2 separate regions of the Homo sapiens genome follow, and region 2 is linked to region 1. The links are contacts of gene promoters, found by promoter capture Hi-C in human tissues and cell types (Jung and others, 2019). All regions are on one chromosome and are shown on one strand. The core of a region is centred on a gene start or on the middle of the fragment in contact, and the rest is flanking DNA. Distances in the headings are between cores, read along the strand shown.

Evidence for each region. Contacts are between HindIII fragments. The study calls those that stand out against the background at their distance.
Region 2: a fragment that was not itself captured here is called in contact with the fragment with the promoter of RIOK2 in region 1 in 1 of the 25 tissues and cell types used here (dorsolateral prefrontal cortex).

Annotation. Positions count from the first base shown.
Region 1 is chr5:97,178,334-97,184,496 of GRCh38, forward strand. RIOK2 (RIO kinase 2) reads right to left here and starts at 4,914. Exons shown (of 10, transcript NM_018343.3): 1 at 4,793-4,914; 2 at 722-860. The coding sequence starts at 4,858. The HindIII fragment of the contact is 15,072 bases long and covers 297-6,163 here.
Region 2 is chr5:98,753,329-98,759,491 of GRCh38, forward strand. No RefSeq gene overlaps it. Among named protein-coding and RNA genes, the nearest start is that of RGMB-AS1, 17 kb to the right of the region's middle. The HindIII fragment of the contact is 6,037 bases long and covers 377-6,163 here.

The DNA of each region.
Region 1 (6,163 bases), core at 3,664-6,163:
CCTACATGCTCTTCATGCTCTTCTACAGTACCTACATGCTCTTCTGCAGTACCTACATGCTCTTCATGCTCTTCTACAGTACCTACATGCTTTTCTGCAGTACCTACTTGCTCTTCTGCAGTACCTACATGCTCTTCTGCAGTACCTACATGCTCTTCTGCAGTGCTCTACCTGCTCTTCTGCAGTACTCTACCTGCTCTTATGCAGTACCTACGTGCTCTTCTGCAGTACCTACGTGCTCTTCTGTACTCTACATGCTCTTCTGCAGTACTCTATGTGCTCTTCTGCAGTACCTACGTGCTCTTCTGTACTCTACATGCTCTTCTGCAGTACTCTACCTGCTCTTCTGCAGTACTCTACCTGCTCTTCTGCAGTACCTACGTGCTCTTCTGCAGTACCTACGTGCTCTTCTGCAGTACTCTACATGCTCTTCTGCAGTACTCTACATGCTCTTCTGCAGTACTCTACGTGCTCTTCTGCAGTACCTACATGCTCTTCTGCAGTACCTACATGTTCTTACTACTATTCTTTTTTCACCTCCTTTGATCTGGGTGTGCCCTGTGATTATTTTGACTAATAGGATATGGCCGAAGTGTGTTCTGTCAGTTCTTCGTCTAATGCTTTACTAGTCTGGCAACTTCTACTTCTTGACTTTTGGAACACTTGCTCTGGTGGAAACCAATTACCTGAAAAATCACAAATGGTGCCTCAAAATACTTACTTTTGGTACGCTCCCAAGCTATGAGTTTATGTTTCACTAATTCTCTTAAAACTTTATTACAGCCACCATGTTTAAGGCTGGCTATAGAAGCAATCAAACTGCCGGGAACAATTTCATGGTTCTTCATGCCCATTTCAACCTGAAATTAAAGGAATCATTATATAATCATAATCAACACAAAGCCTTGTCTATCAAAACCCTGCGAAATTAACTTCTCCTTGAAGCTTTCCTGACTATGCAGTTCTCCAACTAATTCTGAGACATAATCACTTCCGTCTCTTGAAAATATTTTTAATTGCAATTTGAAATCTAATCATTGATATTTGTATTGGCTTTCCATTTCAAGAGTAGGAACTGTGAGTGCTAGACATACTGATGACATTTGGTCAATGCTAAAATACTTGATGACACCTAAACATTTGTCTTTAAAAACTACAGATATGCCAGATATTTATTAAGCAGGTATTTAATGAGAAAGTACTACATGTAGGCATCGTAGAGGATATATATATATATATGAATGATAGACTGGATAAAGAAAATGTGGCACATATACACCATGGAATACTATGCAGCCATAAAAAAGGATGAGTTCATGCCTTTTGCAGGGACATGGGTGAAGCTGGAAACCATCATTCTCAGAAAACTAACACAAGAGCAGAAAACCAAACACCACATTTTCTCACTCATAAGTGGGAGTTGAACAGTAAGAATACGTGGACACAGAAAGGGGAACATCACACACTGGGGCCTGTCGGGGGGTGGGGGGCTAGGGGAGGGATAGCATTAGGAGAAATACCTAATGTAGATGGGATGGGTTGATGGGTACAGCAAACCACTATAGCATGTGTATACCTATGTAACAAACCTGCACGTTCTGCACATGTACCCCAGAACTTAAAAGTATTTTATATATATATATAATATATATATATAAAATATATATATATTATATATATATAATATATATATAATATATATATTATATATATATTTTTAAATTTATTCCTCAGAGGTAAAAAGCACATATATATATATCTCTATCCTACATGCTCTTCTGCATGTGTATATGTATATATATATATATGTATATATATATATATATATGTGCTTTTTACCTCTGAGAAATTTTTATCTCATGATGGAAATTTTAAAAAATGGTATACATCTAAGTTTATTAGAAGTTAAGAAGTGATAAGTGCTTAAAAAGGTAGCTCAGGGCAGAATAAGAATACTTCTAGCTGAGGGATCAGTTCCAAGGAAGATGCAAAACTAGAGACTGACTTTTAAAAGATGTGGGCATACAGAGAAAACAGACAAGGGGATATTAGTGAAAGAAAAAGATTTGAAAATGGCACATATGCAAGAAAGTACTGACCACAGAGAATAGCTGAGTACAGTAGCAGCTCAGATGGGATAGCATATAGAATTCATGCAAACGCGGCTGGAAGATACTTCTAGGATAGAGAAGGCATTAAAATGTAGACCAAATACTTTTATATTTTATCCTGATGAGAGCAGGAAGCTCTTGAAGATGTTTAGGCGTGGGAGACACACGAACAGGGTTATTTTAAGGACATTAATGTACCAGGAATATGCAAATTGGCTTAGAGATGGCAAAATCTGAGGGGGTACTCCGGAGAACTAAGACAGAAGTCCAGCTCAGAGGAAAGAGCCACCAGAACAGGGTAAGTGGTAGTGGTACTGGAAGGAAGGAATAAAAATCTTTAGGAAGTATTATGGGAGAGCTTGGCAATTAGATGTGGAAGGGTAAAGGGAACGGAAAGCCACAATTGGAAGTGATGAGGAAAAGCAAGTTTTAAGATTTTATTATTTTTTTTTTTTATAGAGCTTGGGAAAAGAGAAAGGGGGTAGAAAAAAATTGAATTTGGTTTGAGCACTGAGAGTCAAATAAAAATGTTTAAAGGAAAACTGGAGGCCAGGTGCAGTGGCTCACACCTGTAATCCCAGCACTTTGGGAGGCCAAGGTGGGTGGATCACGAGGTCAAGAGATCGAGACCATTCTGGCCAACATGGTGAAACCCCATCTCTACTAAAAATACAAAAATTAGCTGGGCGTGGTGGTGTGCGCCTATAGTCCCAGCTACTTGGGAGGCTGAGGCAGGAGAATCGCTTGAACCCAGAAGGTGAAGGTTGCAGTGAGCTGAGATTGTGCCACTGCACTCCAGCCTGGCAACAGAATAAGACTCCGTCTCAAAAAAAAAAAAAAAAGAAAGAGAGAAAATTAAATAGGAAAGGGGCCTATATTTAGGAATGAAGTTATAATTAGAAGGAAAAATTGTCAATTATTTTATAGAAGTGAGAGTTGAAGATGTGAAGTGGATGCTATCACTGAGCAGGAGATAATGGAAGAAAAGGAATGTTTGGGAGCAGAATTCTGGGGCAAGTTCATATTGAAAGCTAAGGGCAGCTAGTCAAACAATGATTATTGATATAGGAGGAGCCAAAGAAGTAAAAGGGAAGAGAGGCCCAAGAAAGGGTACCAACACTGGTGAGATTCAACTGAGACCGGAATGTCATATTTAATGACTAAGTCATTTCTTGGTGAACTTTACAAATAATTTAAATATTGCAGCGCCAATGTTTTGGAAGATAAATCTGGCATCATTTTGATGTCTCACCAAAACCTTAACTTTTAAATTTAACTTATTTTCCATGCTTTGTCTCTGCCTCCCCCGTCCTCTAACACTCTTACTTTTGACCCCTACTTCTGTCAGAGACACTAAGGAATGAGTGTGCTGAGAAAGCAGGAAAGGAAGGTATCTTTCCGAAGTGATAGTAGGTTTTCATAGAGAAAGTCCAGCTGATTAGAAGAATCTACATGAGAGGCAAAGTAAACATTGTCTTCCAAATTTCACACTGATTTTGCATTTGATAGTTTAATACTTAAGCGCTATTTAAGATTAATTTTAAAAATCCAAAACTTGAAGCCTTAACATAATGCAAGAACCAGTGTGACTCACATCGCATATCCTATTACATAATTACACAATATAGGTAGTCCTTATCATGGGGTTCACTCCTTACCAAAAGATAACGGCTCCTAAATAAATGTACAAATGTCTTGATCTATATATTAATTTCTGTGCCATAAGACTGAGGCCATAAAATCAGATTTTGTTACTCCCCTGATTAAAAACATTTAGTGGTTACCCCCACATTCTTTACCAAACCTCCAAGGCTCTGTAGTACATAATTTCTCACCTTTTCCGCTACATCTCCAACCATTAGTGTGCATCTCACTTTGCTCCAGCCACATTACATTGGCCTTTCCTCTCTTCAAAGACTTTTCTGTCTCAAGGCCTTTGCACTTACTACTGCTGTTTCCTCTGCCTCCAACTCTTTCCAAGGACTTCACTGGGCTGTCTCTTTCTCACACAGCTCCTATTATTCCCCCATTCATTCTTTCATTTAGTGAATATTTATTGATTGTCTACCAAAGGCCAATAACTTGTGCCCCTCCTCTCCACCAGATACATATACTTTCTATGCCATTATCCTTTATCATTTTCATAGCATTTATCCATTATCCTATTTTTCGTTTACTTGATGATCTGTGTCTCTCTCTCCACTTGTCTGTTTGAACAAGTGAACCTCCTAATGTTGCTACTAAAAAACCGACAAATATGTGTTGACTGAATGAATCAGAAAGACTGCTATGCGACTGAGTCTGTTAGTAGGGAAGTCAATATTATCAAATCTCGGGGGGGGGGGGGGGCTTAAACCTTTCACAGCTGGTCGGAAGCTCAGGATCAGAGAAGTTTCCAGGCCACAGAGATGCAAGCGTTTCTCTTCAGCGCAAAGCGAATAGCAGCAGAAAAGAAAACAATTATTAGAAGACGGGACCTTTGCTCTATCTGGGGGAAGGTAAGCTCCCAAACAAAACCTTTTTAAAAATCCGACTTTCTGAATGCTCTCTTCTCCATTCCCAGCTTCTGCCACGTCCCGGGTCCCAGAGTGTGCCTGCTCAGATCCCAGAAAACTTGCAGGAACAGGAAGAGGTCACACAGTGTTAAGGGGAAGGGAGAACAGGAACGGCGGGTTTCTTACCGCGGTCAAGACCCTGAAGTCATCTCGGCTCATGTAACGCAACTTGGCCACATTCACTTTCCCCATGGCGGCCCCAGTCCGAACCCAGATGCCTCTCCGACGACAGCCGCAAAGCGTAAGGCAGGTCGTTATTCCAGCCTCTAAGCGCTTTACAGCGCCAGATGGCTCGCGCACGCGCTGCGTCTTAGTATAGGTCCTTGTTAATAGTTAGAAGTGCTGTTCTCATTGATATAGGAAAATAAAACTACTTGTATGTCTTATGAAACACATAGTATGTAACAAGTGAACGTTTTATTTTTGTGTAATTTTTGCGTTGTGACTGAGTTGGCGGAGTGTAGATATTCTCTACAATGTGCCTTTTTTTTTCCATATCTGTCAGGACTTGCTGCCTCAATGACACGTTCCGCCTCAGAGAGCAAAGTGGTTACTTAATGGGAGGAGCAAATTTTTCCCGCAAACAACTTCTACTCTAGGCAAAGTGACTTCCAACAAGACAGGGGTAAAAGAACCTGAGCTAGAGTCCAGACAACCAAATCTGTTAAAGGTAAAGTGGACTGTAATCACACAAGCACGCCCTCTACTCCTAATTGCGCCTGCTCCGGCAGCTCCGGAGGGCGTGGTTAATGGAACTCATGCGCTTGCTCAGTACTTCTCTTAGGTTGGTCTAGGAGGCTTCGAAGTGCGCCTGCGCTGGTTGGGGTGGGAGTTTAAGGTGACACGTGGAGAGCGCGGCGGACGTCCTTACCTCCAGAGGAAGTGGGGATTTTGATAGTTCGGGCTGACCTACGCGGGTAGGACTTCGAGGGCCCAGGAGCGATTTAAGGATTTTAGAATAGTTACCCATACTGGCTCTGCAACTCCTCGATATTCAAGCCTTTGTCTGCTTTTTACTTGAATGCAGCATGTCTTTGATTAACCATCTTCAACCAATGAACATCTCCATTTAAACGGAATTTTTCTTTCTGTACTTACATAAGAAGGCATAGAAATGAATTTTTTTTTTATTTTTGAGACAGAGCCCGGCTCTGTCACCCAGACTGAAGTACAGGGGCGCGATCTTGGCTCACTGCAACCTCTGCCCTCTAGGTTCAAGGGATTCTTCTCCCTCAGCCTCCTAAGTAGCTGGGATTATAGGCTCACACCACCACGCCCTGCTAATATTTTTATTTTTAGTAGAGATGGGGTTTCGCCCTGTTGACCAGACTGGTTTCAAACTCCTGGCCTCAGGTGATCCGCCCCCCTCAGTCTCCCAAAGTGCTGGGATTACAGGCATAAGCCACCGCGCCTGGGCGAAAAGTTTTTAAAAAAACCAAGTGACTAACTTTATTTGTACAAATTTATGGGGTACGTGAGAAATTTTGTTACAAGTAT
Region 2 (6,163 bases), core at 2,145-4,644, 1.6 Mb after region 1:
CAGTCTTGCCTGCCCATTGGAAATATCTGGGGACCTTCTAAAAACCCCTAGTGTGCAGACAACATCCCAGACCAATTAAATCAGAATCTCTGAGGGTATTATTTTTCAGATCCCAAGATGATGTTATTATGCACTCAAAAGACAAACACCACGAGAGAATGGCTAGCACTGTGCTCCCCAAACTTTAATATATAGACAAATCATCCGAGGATCTTGTTAAAAACATATCCTGATTCAGTAGGTCTGGGGTAGGCCCTAAGAATCTGAATTCTTAAATAGCTTCCAGGTGATACCTTTGCTACTCGTTTAAGAACTAAACTTTGAGTAGCAAAGGGCTTAGCCCAAAGGTTCTCACAACATGCACCAGAATCACCTGGTGGCAGGAAGTTGGGGAGGGGCAGTTGTTAAAACACAGGTTGCTGGGCCCCATCCTCAGAGATTCTGATCCAGTAGATCTGGGATGAGGCCTGAGAATTTTCACCTCTAACAAATTCTCAGGTGATGCTGTTGCTGTTGGACCAGGGACCACACTGAAATCCACTGGACTAGTCGATTAGCAAAAACCACGTGAACTGTAGTCTTTCAAGTTTGGAGCACAGACTTTATAATTTTAACTTCCATTACCCAGGATGCTTTTCACCTATTTTCATTCTTCCCTGAATTCCATTTGGGCACACTGTTATTGTACATTCTCCTGAGGAAAATGCTAGCTAAAAGGAGTTTTATTTGGGGAAGGAGAAATGTGACAATAATAGGCCAGCAAATGTGCTTTGGATGAGGAAAGGGAAATGTATCTGAAACACTGAAGCTTCCCCTGATATGTCTTATCACTAAAAGCAGCTTAGGCTAAATTTTGAATTGTCTCTTTCTCATAGATTTTAGCTGTAGTGTGCAAACAGTTTTCCCATTTAACAAAAACTTTAATGTTCTGCATTATGTTTTCATTGTGTGTCTGCCTCTCTGATTTCTTGTTTGCTTTGTTCCAATGCATCTTTGTGTCTCTTTCTTGTGAACATGCTGCATAATGCAAACTAATAAAAATATATGCCTCCAAAGTGTGGAGAGTTGAGTGCCACAAATAGAAAATAAAGTGAATTGTTCTTCCAACATCAAGTGTTTCTCAGGAAGCATTTTTTTTTCTGAAGAATATTTTTCCCTCAGGCTGATTTGCATACCAGGAAAGTGACATATATATTATACTTCATCTGTTATATATATTTCCAAGGTGACATCACTTATTGTTTTCTTTGTATTATGGTAGGACAATTATTTAAATTGTTCTATTAATAAAATGTGTTTTAAGTAATGAACCAGGGCATCTCTATTTTCCCTATATAAATGTTTATTTACTCAATAAATAAGTTTCTGTTCATGTCTAGGACTTCAAAATAATATGTGATAAAATATCTATAAAGTAGATATTTTTAAAACTACCACACTTAGCAATTTTCTGTGCATCAGTTAAGAATTCATATGGTTATGATATAATCAAAACCTTTTTTAAAAACCCTAAAACAATTATGATACAATTCACCTCAAAATAGCATAGAATCTTATAGCTCTAAATTGTGGTATGACAATGGTAGCAGCAAACTTGTCAAATCAGATGAGAGAGTGCAGGATTAGAAAGCTCCAAGTGTTCTATCAATCACTTATTATTCCCAGAAAAAAAGGGACAATAATAGAAGATATACTGAGACAACATAACAGGATTTTTTTCTCCTATTTAATTTAAAATGTCAAATTAGTTTTTAAAACCCTCTCAATTAGAAATGTACTCTGAAGGATAACCAAAAAAAGTCCCTTTGAGCTGTATTTTATTGTTATTTTTAAGAAAATAGAAACCAAAGTTTTGGCTTGAAGACTTACCTAGAGTAAATCTATTCTGGCAGAAACCCAAACAGATACTAGAAGTTTCACATCAGAAAATGGGATTTGATTGACATCCCGCTTGAAATCCATCTTGATAGTTTAAGAAAATCATTGAGTTAACAGAGAGTGCCTTGCAAAAACAGTACAGAAAAACCAAGGAACATTCTGAGACTCAGATTCCATGAGATAAATGTTAGAAAGGTAAATTTTGGGCAATGAGTTCAAGATACATGGCTTCATTATTTCTTTATTGACTCACTGGGATTACCCAGTATTGACCAGCAGCAGGAGTCATAGCTGGAAATGCATTCCCAAAGTCACTAGGTTATGAGTATTGCAGGTGCATGCGATCTGTTTGTTTGTTTTTAAGTGAGTTTGTATTTGCGGGCAGCCCTTGGGGACAATTAGAATTTTGGCAGCTGAGAAGGCAAAATGACTAACAGGACTTGCAGCCAAAATAGCTTTACATAGAAATTCTTATGAAAGCCAATACTAAGTATACACAATTTCGTCTATGACTAAGATCCTAGAGATGGAAGAAACTAAAATTAAATTATTGGTTAGAATGACATTGCTATAAAAGAACATGGCATTTGGCCCCCCTGAAAAAAATCAAACCCCAAAAGTAATTATAAATGTAAGGTATCCTGACTGGGAGAAAATGCTACTTAGAGTTCCACAGAGGTCCTTTAGAACCCAGTATCATTCAACATTTTTATTAACAGCTTTGAGTGGAGATGTTAATACTAATCAAACTTATAAATGGTTAGAATTACAGTGTTTTAGAAAATTAAGATTAAAGTCGAATATAAGCATGAAAAGTTTGAGAAATGGGTGAAAAACGATAAAATGCAACATTCAATAAAGGAAAAATGTGAAGTGGTTTACACAGAAAATGGTGAGTACTACAAAACACTAACAAGAACAAAACACTGAAAAGTATGAGAAAAACGGAAAGTATCAATAATGTGTCACTAACACAAAAATGCTATATTTTATTCTTCATTTAAAATAGTATTTAATACATTGAGTGAATTTCATTTGCATCACTTTGCTTTAGGACAAGTGAAATTTGAAGTTCATTGTGGCAGAATTATGTAATAACAGATAGTCCAATTACATCATTCAGAAGAGAATAGAGGAATTAATAAAAGGTTAAGAAAGAAATACCTTCATGGCAAAAGTTATAGAAAGTTAGGCTGGGTGCGGTGGCTCACGCCTGTAATCCCAGCACTTTGGGAGGCCGAGGCGGACAGATCACGAGGTCAGGAGATCAAGACCATCCTGACTAACACGGTGAAACCCCGTCTCTACTAAAAATACAAAAAATTAGCCGGGCATGGTGGCAGGTGCCTGTGGTCCCAGCTACTCGGGAGGCTGAGGCAGGAGAATGGCGTGAACCTGGGAGGCGGAGCTGGCAGTGAGCCGAGATCACGCCATTGCACCCCAGCCTGGGCGACAGAGCGAGACTCCATCTCAAAAAAAAAAGAAAAGAAAGAAAGTTAATAGTCCAGAAAAAGAAAAGGCAGCAAAGGGGAAATTATAGAACTCTTGAGTAATACATAAATAGAAAGTAGTAGTAAGTGTAATGGTTAAAAGACTTTTTAGAGCTATACGTATGGGTTTGCATCTAATATGGTTTGGCTCTGTGACCCCACCCAAATCTCATTTTGTAGCTCCCATAATTGCCACATGTTGTGGGAGGGACCTGGTGGGAGATGATTGACTCAATCATGGGGGCGGGTCTTTCCTGTACTGTTCTCGTGATAGTGAATGGGTCTCACAAGAGCTGATGGTTTTAAAAGCAGTAGTTTCTCTGCACAAGCTCTCTCTCTTTGCCTGCTACCATCCATGTAAGATGTGACTTGCTCCTCCTTGCCTTCTGCCATGACTGTGAGGCCTCCCCAACCATGTGGAACTGTAAGTCCAATAAACCTCTTTCTTTTGTGAATTGCCCAGTCTTGGGTATGTTTTTATCAGCATTGTGAAAACTGACTAATATATATCCTACCTCTTCAACTTCTTACCATGCACAAAAAAATAAAGTCATGATTTAGTAAGTTTCCTCAATTCTCTAAATTTCCTTATCTGTAGAATATAGAAAATGAAGGTATCTAGGATTGGACAATTGTTGTGAGAATTAAGTGTGATAATACATTTAGTGCAGAGTTTGCATTGGTTTCTGGGTCTCATTTCCTTCATTAATTAATCAAATTTAGTTAAAATGATGCTTTTCTAAAGTCGAAGAGAGGCAATGCTAGAGTAGATCCCAAATAAGAGTGTTTTGTTTGTTTGTTGTTTATTTTTGTTTTTAATTTTCTTTCCAGAAAAACCAAAGGAAGGAGATCACCAAATATAGATTATTTTAAGACCAAGTTATCCTTTCCCTCAAAATAAAGGGAATGTTCTAACTCAGGTTCCCAAATTTGCAGACAAAGCTTGTTTATGATATTTTACCTTTCAGAAGTGCCTTTTGTCCTTGGAATATGGATTACTCTTACTCTATCTTCTGTGCCTTAAATTAAACTTCTCAACACATTCTTTCCTACCTAAACCCTGTATATTCTCATCTTTTCTCATTCCAAGATACATATAATCTGCAGTCTACTTTTTTTCCAGCCTCTTCCCTTAAAGGTCCACATTTCTTATCACTTCTCTGACCACTTTGATCAAACTTTGGCTTTCCTGGATGTCATATGAAATATGAGATATTCTATGAGGAGTGTTGAGAGGACTTTGGGAGAAATCTAGACCAAGAACCTGTAATGTTATAACTAAACACACCATTCCATGTATTTTATTGTATGTAGTTATCAAAAATATTTTCATGTAACTTTAAGAGAATTTACTAAAGAAAGGTATAATTTTCCTAATTTAATGTACATCTAAGTGTCTAAAAGGGAGAGAACACATCATATATGTAGATAGGTGTGAATATGAAGTCAATCATGGTAAGCGCCTTGCAGTCTTTCATGATTCATGAAGCCTGTCACTGAGATACAGGATATCTGGTGGCAGGTGAAGGCTCCAATTTTGTTGAAATAGATCGTTTAGTACTGTGAAGGCTGTTAAAAATGAAACTATTTATATAATAAAAAGAAAATAATTCATTGCCTACATCTGTCTGCTGAAATTTAATAAAAACTGGTTATTCAAATGACATATTTTTACATGCAATGTGAGAATTCAGGGATGGATGCAACAAACACAAAGAAATAATGGAGAAATTCTCACTAGGAGTTTGAACAAATCTTAAATTTAGTAAGTCCAAAATTAAACTCGTGCTTTTCCCCTGACAATGTTTAACTTTATCTTAGCCCTGTGCTCTCACTCGCTTGTGTTCAAATAAATGGGGAACCACAAAGAACCATCCCGCCCTTTAATATTCCAAGATAACCCATCTCTACCTTCCTTAATGACTCAGTTAAGAGCCCTCTCAACTCCTTCTCACCATTCTCAGAAGATAACCTGGTGACATTCTTGCCTATCTGCCCTTCATGCAAGGCCTCTTTTCTTATCTTTGAGATCATCCTAGTTAATGAACTATCTCCCTATTACAACAGACTTTATAAAACCATCCCCTTAATTGTCTGGTGCATTTTGTCTAGAAAAACCTATTTCAACTCTTAGTTGATGGCAAATCCAATTTTTTTTCTTTTTTTTCTTTTTTTTTTTTTTTGAGAGAGGGTCTTATTCTGTCTCCCAGGCTGGAGTGCAGTGGCACAGTCACAGCTCACTGCAGGCTCAACCTCCCTGGGCTCAGGTGATCCTCCCACCTCAGCTGCCCAAGTAGCTAGGAACACAGGTACACACCACCATGCCCACCTAATTTTTGTTTTTTGTGGGTTTTTTTTTTGTAGAGATGGGGTTTCACCATGTTGCAGAGGCTGGCCTTGAACTTCTGGCTCCACCTTGGCCTCCCAAAGTGCTAGGATTACAGGTATAAGCCATAGTGCCCAGTGGCAATTCCATCTTGATGGCAGCTCAAGCCAAAACCCTGGAAGTCATTCTTGACTCCTCTTTTTCTCAAGCATCCCCATCCAATCTACCAAGGAAGGAATCCTTTTGGTTTTAACCTCAAAATACATCCGGAATCCTATCACTTCTAACCAATTCCGTTGCTAACCCTATGGTTTGAGCCATTACCATCTCTTGCACAGATTATTTTAAAAACCACCCCACAGGCCTCTCAGCTTCCACTTTTGCCTGGCTATAGTATATTCTCAACAAAATTACATGAATGAACTAAAATTCAGATCATGGCATTTATCTGCTCAAAATTCTCCAAAGG